2 separate regions of the Homo sapiens genome follow, and region 2 is linked to region 1. The links are contacts of gene promoters, found by promoter capture Hi-C in human tissues and cell types (Jung and others, 2019). All regions are on one chromosome and are shown on one strand. Each heading gives the region's core, a stretch centred on a gene start or on the middle of the fragment in contact. The rest is flanking DNA. Distances are from core to core; before and after follow the strand shown. Region 1 holds the start of MACROD1 (mono-ADP ribosylhydrolase 1). Region 2 overlaps ZFTA (zinc finger translocation associated).

Region 1 (4,967 bases), core at 402-2,901:
GGGGTCTCTGTGGGGACAGTGGCTCCCCCTCCAGGGGTCTCTGCCAGCCCCAAACTCCTCCTGCTGTTCTGGGGCAAGGGCCAAGTGCCTGACAAGTTCTCCATCTGCTCACGGGCTAAAGTCGGTGCTTTCTGCCGTCACTTTTAGATCCTGGCGCAGGCCACACAATTCATGTCAGGAGTAAATCATTTTGATTTCCACCTCTGGTCCCGAGAAAGCCATCTTCTCTTCACCCCTAACACCGCAGGACCCCCCCATCCTGCCTGCCCAGCCCAGAGGCCACACCTACTCCACCACGGAGGCCCAGCCAATTAGCCACTTCCCTGCACTTTTGAAAGGGGATCCAGCCGGGAAGAGTCACAGGATCCCAGGAGGCAGGCCCTGAAAGGCAGGGGCAGCTGGGTGCCCGGCAGGGCTATTTGGGGCTCAGTAGCGGCAGCTTGGGTTCTCTCTCTCCCCAGGCCCCAGACTCATGCCCCCTCCAGGAGCAAGAGGAAGTGGTGTGATTCTTGAAGGGTGTCATCAGTTGTCACAGGGACAAGACCCCACCTCTGCCCTGCTCCTCTAACCTCTGTTCCTGGCATGAGCAAACTGCTCACAAGTGGCCAGAGGCCAGCGAGAAGGGGAAAAGGGCGCCAGACCACGTGCCCAGGAAGGCATCAGAGTGCGGGCTTGGGGTGGGGTGGAGGCAGGACAGGCCAGCCCAGGAAGGTCACTCTGTGAGGTTACGTGCCCCACCAGGTGGGACGCCAGCCCCGGAGCTGTTCCCTCAGCCCCATTCCCGAACACTTAAGAACCACACTGTGCAAAGTTTGGAGAGTCCGGGATCATAACCTCCACTTTGCCACCAGCTCCGAGTGACCTTGGGGAAGCCAGCTGTGGCACTCGGCCTCAGTTTCCCTCCTGCACAGGGAAGGAAGTTGGTAGGTCCTGCACAATCTCTGGGGTGCCCTGTGACCCATTCCAATGGGGTAAGGAAGGCCGCCTTCCTCACGCTGCCCCCTGCGTGGACACTTGGACCTGGTCTGGAGTGAATTGTTCTGTGGGGCTGGGAACACGCGCGGGGGCGGGGGGGGCTGTCAATGGGGAGGAGGGGTCCGTTCCAGGGCAGATGGGGCCTCAACTTCCCCAGGTCTCTCGGGTGGAAGGGGCTGCTCGCTCGTTGGGGGCCGCCCAGCCGGGAAGCTCCACGTGAGGCCGCCCTCTCCCTCGCGCCCCCTCGTGCTTACACTTACATTTCGCCTCCTTCCAGTCGGTGGAGGTGCTCAGGTCCACCTTCGCCGCCATGGCCAGGGGGGCCCAAGTGCGCACCCCGGCTGTCCGCCCCACCGCCGCCGCCCCCCACGCCCCAACTCCCGCCGAGGTCCGCGCACGGCGGCCGAACACGCCCAGGAACGCCGGGGGACCGCACGTGCTGCTGCGGGTCCTCGTGGCACCCGCCAAGTGTCCGGGCCGGGGGCGCGGGGGGACGAGCAGCTGCCCCGCCGCGCGCAGCTGTGCCAGGCGGCCGGACAGTCGGCTCTGTAGAGACATGAGCGGGCGGCGCGGGACGGCTCTCCGCCCACTTGGACTCTATTTACGGCGCTCGGGAGTGTCTCTCCCTTATTTACTCTGGGACCGGGTGGCGACTGCCAGCCAGCGGCGACCTGCTCGGAGCCAGCGGGAGGCGCGGCCAGAAAACCCGGGAGCGCCGCTGGGCACCCTGGAACTTGTAGTCCGGGCCGCCGGATGGGCCCACGCACTCGTATACACACGTGCGCGCCCGCCCGGGCTCCCAGTGTCGCGGATGGAGCCCCGCCTGAGCCCTTCGACTTCTCCCGTGGCCGCCAGGCGCCTCCCCTCCGCGAGACCTCGGCCGCCTCTAACTTTCTGGTTGGCTGAGCGTCGGCTTCCCCGGCACGGGCTGAAGCCCCCGGGCCTTCCACGCAGCCCCGGGCCCCTCTGCCGCTCGGCCCCGCGGCGGAGCAGGCGCGCCGGCCGCTGCGTATCGAGCTGGGAGAGCCTGGCGCGGCTTCCGCAGTGCCGAGCGTTTTGCAGCCTGGGAGACCCGGGCTTCTCTCCCCGCGGGTCAGCAGGGCACCGCCTCCACACCCCAGCCTGCCCTCCTAGGGACAGGTGCGACGAACGGGTAAATCCGGTTTGGGGACTTCTCCCCAGAGCCTCTGCCTTCTAACAGCCCCGGGGCCAAGGCTCAGCTGGAGCAGAATCTAGGACAGCTGGGGAGGAGAGTCGAGGGTGGAAATAGTGGAATTTGGAGGCAGGAAACTTAGGCTTCAAGTGGCGTTCAAGGGTGGAAGGATTGGGGTGATGTTTTTGTGTGTGTCTGTGTGTTTTTTTTTTTTTTTCTTTTCTTTTTTAAACAAAAACCGGCCGGGCGCGGTGGCTCACGCCTGTAATCCCAGCACTTTGGTAGGCCGAGTTGGGTGGATCACGAGGTCAGGAGTTCGAGGCCTGCCTGGCCAACATGGCGAAACCCCGTCTCTACTAAAAATACAAAAATTATGCAGGCGTGGTGGTGCATGCCTGTTAATTACAGCTACTCGGGAGGCTGAGGCAGGAGAATCACTTGAACCCGGAAGGCGGAGGTTGCGGTGAGCCGAGATCGTGCCATTGCACTCCAGCCTGGGTGACAGAACGAGACTCTGTCTCAAAGAAAACAAAACAAAAAACACGAGGATGGATTTTTAAGTACTTTTATATATTTTTATGTACTATTAATATTACTTTATGATAAATATAATGAATACAGGCCGGGCCATTATAATAATATAATGAATGTAATAATGAATAATGAATAAGTGCTCACACCTGTAATCCCAGCACTTTGGGAGGCTGAGGCAAGAGGATTATTAGAGGCCAGGAGTTCAAGACCAGCCTGGGCAATATAGTGAGACCCCCTCATCTCTACCCGCCCCCACACAAAAAAATTACCCTGGTATGGTGGTAGACACTCACCTCTAGTCCCAGCTACTCCAGAGGCTGAGGCAGGCAAACACTTGAGCCCAAGGGTTCAAGGCTACAGAGAGCCATGATGGCACCACTGCACTACAGCCTGGACGACACAGTGAGACCCTATCTCAAAAGTAATAATAATAATGAATATATTTTAATACGAGGGAGGAACGAGCCAGGGTTTCAGAGAAGGTTCTAGTACTAGTGTTGCTGCCCTAGGGTACCCTAGCCCCTTAAGACTCAAACTTCTTGAGCTGTCAGCTAGGAATAAGAGAGTCTGGCTGGTTGCAAACCTGCTCCTGTGCTCCAGGCCTCTGACTCTGAGTGTGGCAATAACCATGGATGGCCGTACGAGGATCCCTGACCTGCCATGGATGCAGATGGAACCACTGGGATGGTGACACGGGCTCACCCTTGGACTCCAGACATTAAATCTGCCCAAGAGAGGATCAGCATAGACTTGCCAGCAGCAGGGTAGGCAGTCATCAGTACTGGGAGTGAGGGCAAAGGGGAGCCAGAGGCCAGGAAGGAAGAGCCCACGGCCCCCAGCATTCCAGGACCACCAGCAAGGCCTGCACCCTCTCCTGAAAACATCAGCAAGGCACGGTTCAGGATGTAGGGGTCAGGCTCCAGGTCACCTCACCAGTTGTGGCCCCTCCAGTAACTCAGAGTAAAGGAAGGACCTTGCTGACTGCAACCAGGACAGCCAACACCTACATGCACGAAGTCCCAGCTGTACTGAGCTAAGCCCTCTATGTCCATTCCCACTACCTCCATTAGCCCGTTATATCCTCAGCTCTCACCCCCTCCAGGCAGAGAGATGATTGGCCCAAGGTCAGGTCAGGATCCCAGCCCCGACTTGGGTCCAGGTCTGTTTGGTTCCCATCTGCAGTCTGGAAAATGGTTATGCAGGTGTCACTGATTGGTGAAATGAGGCATGTGGGTGATGCAGTATATTACTTCTCCATTGCTGCTGTACCATTACCGCAAATTCACTGGCTTCAACGACACATTTAGTATCTTAAAGTTCTGTAGGACAGAAGTCTGATGTGGGCATCACTGGGTTAAAATCAAGGGGAACACGAGGCCATGTTCCTTTCTGGAAGCCCTAGCAGACAGCCTGTATCATTGCCTTTTCTGATTCCCAGAGACCACTCACATTCCTTGGCTTGAGACCTGTTCCTCCATGTTCAAAGCCAGCGCGGTTGCATCTGAGCATTCTCCTGTAGTGGCATTTCCCTCTGATACTCTCCTTCTGCCTCTCTCTTCCATCTTCAGGGACACTTGTGATTACATGGAGCCCACCTAGATAATCTGTGACAATTTCTCTACTTAGCTGATTTGCAGCCTTCATTCCCCTTTGCCGTGTAATGTAACATATTTACAGGCTCTAGGATTTAGGATGTGGAGTCTTTGGAGGGCCATTATTCTGCCCTGTGCAACCTTCCTGGCAATGTCTAGTGAGGATGATGAGGTAGAGGCAGGGTCCCCAGCCATAAGAAAGTCTTGGCGTTCAGGCCGGGTGCAGTGGCTCACGCGTGTAATCCCAGCACTTTAGAAGGCCAAGGCGGGTAGAACACCTGAGGTCAGGAGTTCGAGAGCAGCCTGGCCAACATAGCGAAACCCCATCTCTACTAAAAATACAAAAAAAAAAAAAAATTAGTTGGGCATGGTGGCACACGTCTGTAGTCCCAGCTACTCAGGAGGCTGAGGCAGGAGAATTGTTTGAACCTGGGAAGCAGAGGTTGCAGTGAGCTGAGATCGTGCCACTGCACTCCAGCCTGAGTGGCAGAGTGAGACTCCCTCTCAAAATAAATAAATAAATAACGCAGGTGTAGTGGGTCACACCTGCAGTCCCAAGTACTTGGGAAACTGAAACAAGGAGATCACTTGAGTCCAGGAGCTGGAGGTCAGCCTGGGCAACACAGTGAGACCTTGTCTCTAAAAATAAATAAATAAGTAACATGCATTTATTTATTTATTTATTTAGAGACGGAGTCTGGCTCTGTCGCCCA
Region 2 (4,833 bases), core at 2,073-4,572, 400 kb before region 1:
TGACCCTTAAGCTGGCTTTTAAAAATGTATTCAACATACCTCTTAGAAAACTTAGGCTGAAATATTTTTTAAATGACTGATGCAAACAATTTCACAAATACGCATACAAATGTTTGAATAATGTCACTAAGTAACATGGTATATAAATATGTATTCAGAGTAACATTTACATATTGGCCATAATAGCAAGCATACCATTAACAACAACAACAAAAAAAATCATGAAGAGACTTCACCTGTTCATGTCAGAATCCCAAGGCAAGGAGGCACACCTAGGCAAGAGGGCCAACTCAACTTGCAACGTCTAACCTGTGAGGCCATAACTTCCATCAAAGCAGGAATCAATGGAATCACTACCGCAGCCCTTCCCTTTCACTGGTGCCCGGCACTTCAGCTGCATCAAGATCAATGGAGGGCTCATGAAAACACTGCTAGGCCCCAACCAAGTTTCTGATTCAGTAACCCTGGGGTATGGCCCAAGAATTTTTATTTCTAGCAGATTCCTAAGGTGATGCTGCTGGTCTCAGGGACACACTTTGAGAGCCACTGGTGTGTTTGGGGCTGTCTCAGTAAAGATGTCCACTCTCCTGAGGCCTCTCTCTGCCTACGGAGGGGGGGGAATCTAACCCCTCTGCCCTGGCTTATCCGAACTTTGGCAGTGGGCTTGAGTGATTATAAATTGGTTCCCCCAATTTGCCTACTGTTTTTGAATGGGCAGAGTAAAAAAAGTGGTGTTAATACTCTGGATCCGAAAAAATGCATGAAGGAAAGTAAAAGAATGGCAGTGCCCAGCCTGGTGCCATCCATAATCTCCGTTCTCAAGCTTTTAATACTGTCTCAAAAACCGTGGAGGTTCAAACTCACTGGGAATTTACTTTTCAGTCAATTGACAACCCATTCAGGATCTTCCTGAATCCCTGGTGGCCTCCACAACAAAAAGCACAAAGCCCCCTGCCGAGGCAGCCTTGGGCCCTGCGGCAGCCGCCCCACCTCTGGAGTTCTGCTGGGGAGGGGAAGGACGATTGGATGGCGCCTTCCAGCTGAGGCCCTGCAGAGCTCAGTGTGCTCATCCCAAGGCAGTGTGCAGGGCTTTGCCACCTTCAGGAGTCACAGATCCACCGTGGTGGCCTGCATTGCCCAGCATGTCAATCCTTCGGCAGGCCTGACAAATTTTAATAACTGACCAGCGAATTGGGAAGCAGTGTGGCATCGTGCAAAGAACACTGAGTCAGGAGCTAGGATTTTCATTCTAGTTCTTGTACTGTCCCTACCTGGCTGTGTGATCATCTCGGTTCCTGGGCTCCAATTTACCTATCTGTGAAGGTGAGGAGGGTAGTACTAGTGATCTCCAGGGCCCTTTCCAATTCTGACAATCCTCAATTATATAAAAATGCTATAAAATCCGTGGTATAAAATCCAACTCCCAAACAGGAAGCGTCAAGGGGACTGGGCCTGAGGCACTTGAACCTTAGGCTCTGGCCTGGGGGTCAGGGATGAGAGGAGGGGCCTCCTCTTTGCCCTCTGCTTTCCCACTCCTGGGCTCTGGCCTGGGGGTCCGGAATAAGAGGGGCCTCCTCTTTGCTCTCTGCCTTTCCACCCCGAGGCAGGGGCTGGACCACGCTGCCCAGGCATCTCTTCCTCCAGACCCAACCCTCAAGTTCCACCCACTAGCCTCCCCGCCCCGGCTTTAGGACCGCGGGAACTGTTCCTGCAGCAGCCTGGCTTTGTGAAGAGCAGACAGTAGGGCCCGGAGTCTCCCAGCGGGATTAACATCAGCACAGCTAGTTGGGGTCCTCCCGTCCCCGCCTCTGCCCTCGCTCCTCCTTCCTTCAGGTCCTCCCTCCACCACCTCACAGCTTATCTCTGATACACGCATAATAAATAAGACATTTGCACATAAGGGTGACTGGGTCAGCTCTGTCCCCGCCCCTCCCCCTTTCATATAAAAGCATTAAATACAGTTTCAAAATAAAATACAAAGAGCAAAAAAGGGCCTGATCTCGGGGCCACCTGTTCTCCACAGGAGAATGAATCTACACATCCCTCTCGGACCTGCCTGGGAGATCGCGGGGCCCCATCCCTGCCACACAGGGCCTGCGGCTGCCACGGGGAAAAGAGGCCGAGGCCCGGCCCCAGGCCCTGCGGGTTGAGAACGGACGCCGCATCCACCGCGGACAAAGGGGGATGGGGATGGGGCGGGAATCGAAGGCTGACTGCCGGGACCGCCTGTGCCCCGGGCTCCCACGGACTTGGTTTAGGGGTAAGCAGAGACCCTCGGGGCAAGAGGAGCAAAGGAAAAAAGTGCTAATCCCTTTACAAGAGCTTTCCTGGAGGGCGTGGCAGCGGCCTGGGAGGAGAGTGGGGCCGCCGGGCGCACGGTTCTCACTGAGCCTGCCGGGGAGGTAAGCGCAGCTGGTCCAGCCCGGGCCCCGGGCGCGTAGCCCCGCCCTCGGTCCAACGCGCCTTCCCACCCCGGGAAGGCTCCCGAGCCCTGCGGCCCAGCCTCCCGCTGGAAGCCCCAGTCCGCAGCCGGGGCCTCCGAGAGGCCGAGAATCCCAATTAGGGAAGGGCAGCCAGCAGCCCCCAAGCCGGGAGCCGTGCCTGCCAGCGTGCAAGGCTGCAGGGAACTGGGCCCCCAGCCAGGGCCAGAGCCAGAGCCCGCACGGCCCCCCTTCGGCCCTAATACTGACTGACGGCGCCCCCAGTCCCGGCCTGCGGAGAACCCCCTCGCGGGGTGCGGCCGGGAGCGCTCGGCGCTAACACGTGGAGGCCACTGAGGATTCTCGGAAAACGTGGGCCCTGCGCGGGGAGGGCAGGGCTCCGGGCCGATGGGAGAGTGCGCTTCCCGCAGCGCACCGACTGGCTCAGGGACCCAAGTGGCACCGCGCAGACGCCGGTGGCCCCACCCGATCCCCCGTCTCCGCCCGGCCCGGCCAGCGGGGGGCGCGGCCGCGGGAAGCGCTAACACCGGACGCGAGGGTCTCCCAGCCGAAGGGCCGGGCGAGCACAGGGCGGGGCGGGGCCGATCCGACCCGACCCGACCTGACCCGGGGGCCCGCTAGGCCGCTACGCCCGACACACAGCGCCAGACTTGAGGTCCGCGCCGCCGTCACGCGGCGCCGGGGCGGGCGGCCCGAAGCCCTCGTGGCCGTAGCAGCGCAGCGCCGCCTCCTCGTAGGCCTCCAGGATAGTCTGGCGCTCCTCAGGCGTGAAGTCCATGGAGAAGGGGTGCACCTGCAGGATGTGGCGCTTGATGGTGCTCACCTTGAGCGTGGCCAGCGCGCCCCCGCACACCATACACACCAGGCCGCGCCGGCTGCCGTCGTAGTCCATCAGGTACTCGCCCCGCCACCGCGGCTGGTAGTTCCGCCGCTGCTCCCGGCTGCGGGGCGGGGGCGGAGGCGGGGGAGGAGGCGGCGGCGGCAAGGCGAGTCCCCCAGGCTCCTGGCCGTCCTCTTCGTCCTCCTCTTCTTCGGCGGGCCGCTCCAAGGGAGCTCCAGGGGACAGCGGAACGTCGCCTAAGGAGGGACAAAGGACCGCATTGGCGACGGCGGGGGGCAGCGGGCTGGGCCCCGCGTCTCATCTCCAGTCACCCCATCTTTGCCCTTCTATCCCATCCTCCAGTCCCTTCTGCCCCAGCAACTGCCCGGCTCTCCCTCTCCGCCTGCTCTGGCCCCACCGCTCACCCCACTCCTCCTCCTCCTCCTCTGGCTCCTCCTCCTCGTCCCCTCCCCCCTCGTCGGAGGCTGCGGCAGTGCCGGGGGGGATGGGGCCCTGGGGGGACTCGGGGCGGGGCGGCCCCAGGGCCAGCAGGTGGGCGGCCTTCTCGCTCCACTCCCGGGCGATGAGGGCCTGGACAGGCCCGCCGAGGCGCGTGGAGCCCGGGTGGCGCCGGCGGATGTGGCGCTCGATGGTGCTCATCTTGAGCGAGGCCAGCGCGCCCCCGCACACCCCGCACACCAGGCCGCGCCGGCCGCCGTCCAACTCCATGAGGTACTCCAGCCGCCAGCGCTCCTGGGGGTGGCGGCGGTGGGCGCGGCCCCGCGGCGACCGGCCCGGGACCCCCGCCCTCTCGCCCTCGCCCTCCTCCAGCTCCTCCTCCTCCTCTGCGGGCCCGGGCCTCTCAGGGACCCAGCCAGCCTCTTCCTTTACGTCTGGGGGGCTGAGATCCTGAGAGGAGGGGGCTCCAGCAGCGGAGGCCGAGTCCCGGCTCTTTCCGGTCAGGTCCTGGGGGGCGAGGTCATCGCCTGTTGGGGAAGGGGTGAGGGAGAGGGGCTCAGCCTGCTGGCTGGGTTGCCCTTGCCCACTCAGAGGGGTCCATCCTGGCTCCTCACCCCAGCCCCAAGCTAGAGGCCCCAGTCTGTCTCTGTCTGGGGGCAGGGGGAAAGTATGTGTGTGGAGCACCAGCTCCTGGCCTTCAGCCCTCAGCCCTAAGTCCCTGCCTCCCAGTTTTGGCCACAGACCCCACTTCAGAGCCCCAGTATGAGGGGGTCTCAGCCTGGGATGGGCCTCGCACCTGGTGGGGACTGGGTGAGCTCAGACAGCGCCTCGGGCTGGCCCCCCCAGGCCTGCAGCAGGGCACTGCGCTGGGGGCCGCTGAGCCCCAGGGAGCCAGGGTGCACCTCCAGCACGTGGGCACGGATGTCGTCCAGGTGCAGGCTGGGCAGTGCCCGGCCACAGGCCATGCACACCAGCCGGTTCCCCCGCGGGTCATAGTCCATGAGACACTCGGCCCGGAACCAGTTCTGCAGGGACTCCTTCAGCCTCCTCTCCAGGCGCCGGGCCCCCAGCCCCCTGCTGCCCCCGGCCCTCCGGGAGGCTGAGAGGCGCAGA

What was found. Contacts are between HindIII fragments. The study calls those that stand out against the background at their distance.
Region 2: a fragment that was not itself captured here is called in contact with the fragment with the promoter of MACROD1 in region 1 in 1 of the 25 tissues and cell types used here (spleen).

Annotation. Positions count from the first base shown.
Region 1 is chr11:64,164,462-64,169,428 of GRCh38, forward strand. It overlaps MACROD1 (mono-ADP ribosylhydrolase 1), which reads right to left and starts at 1,652. Exons shown (of 11, transcript NM_014067.4): 1 at 1,236-1,652. The coding sequence starts at 1,533. It overlaps LOC105369339 (a long non-coding RNA gene), which reads left to right and starts at 1,777. Exons shown (of 3, transcript XR_950187.3): 1 at 1,777-2,128. RefSeq lists an enhancer at 1,171-1,671 and silencers at 1,209-1,308, 1,439-1,518, 1,779-2,038. The HindIII fragment of the contact is 20,905 bases long and covers 1-4,967 here.
Region 2 is chr11:63,760,352-63,765,184 of GRCh38, forward strand. ZFTA (zinc finger translocation associated) reads right to left here. Exons shown (of 5, transcript NM_001144936.2): 3 at 4,517-4,833; 4 at 3,687-4,247; 5 at 1-3,518. The coding sequence ends at 3,067. Among named protein-coding and RNA genes, the nearest start is that of ZFTA, 6.0 kb to the right of the region's middle. RefSeq lists an enhancer at 1,264-2,023. The HindIII fragment of the contact is 7,859 bases long and covers 1-4,833 here.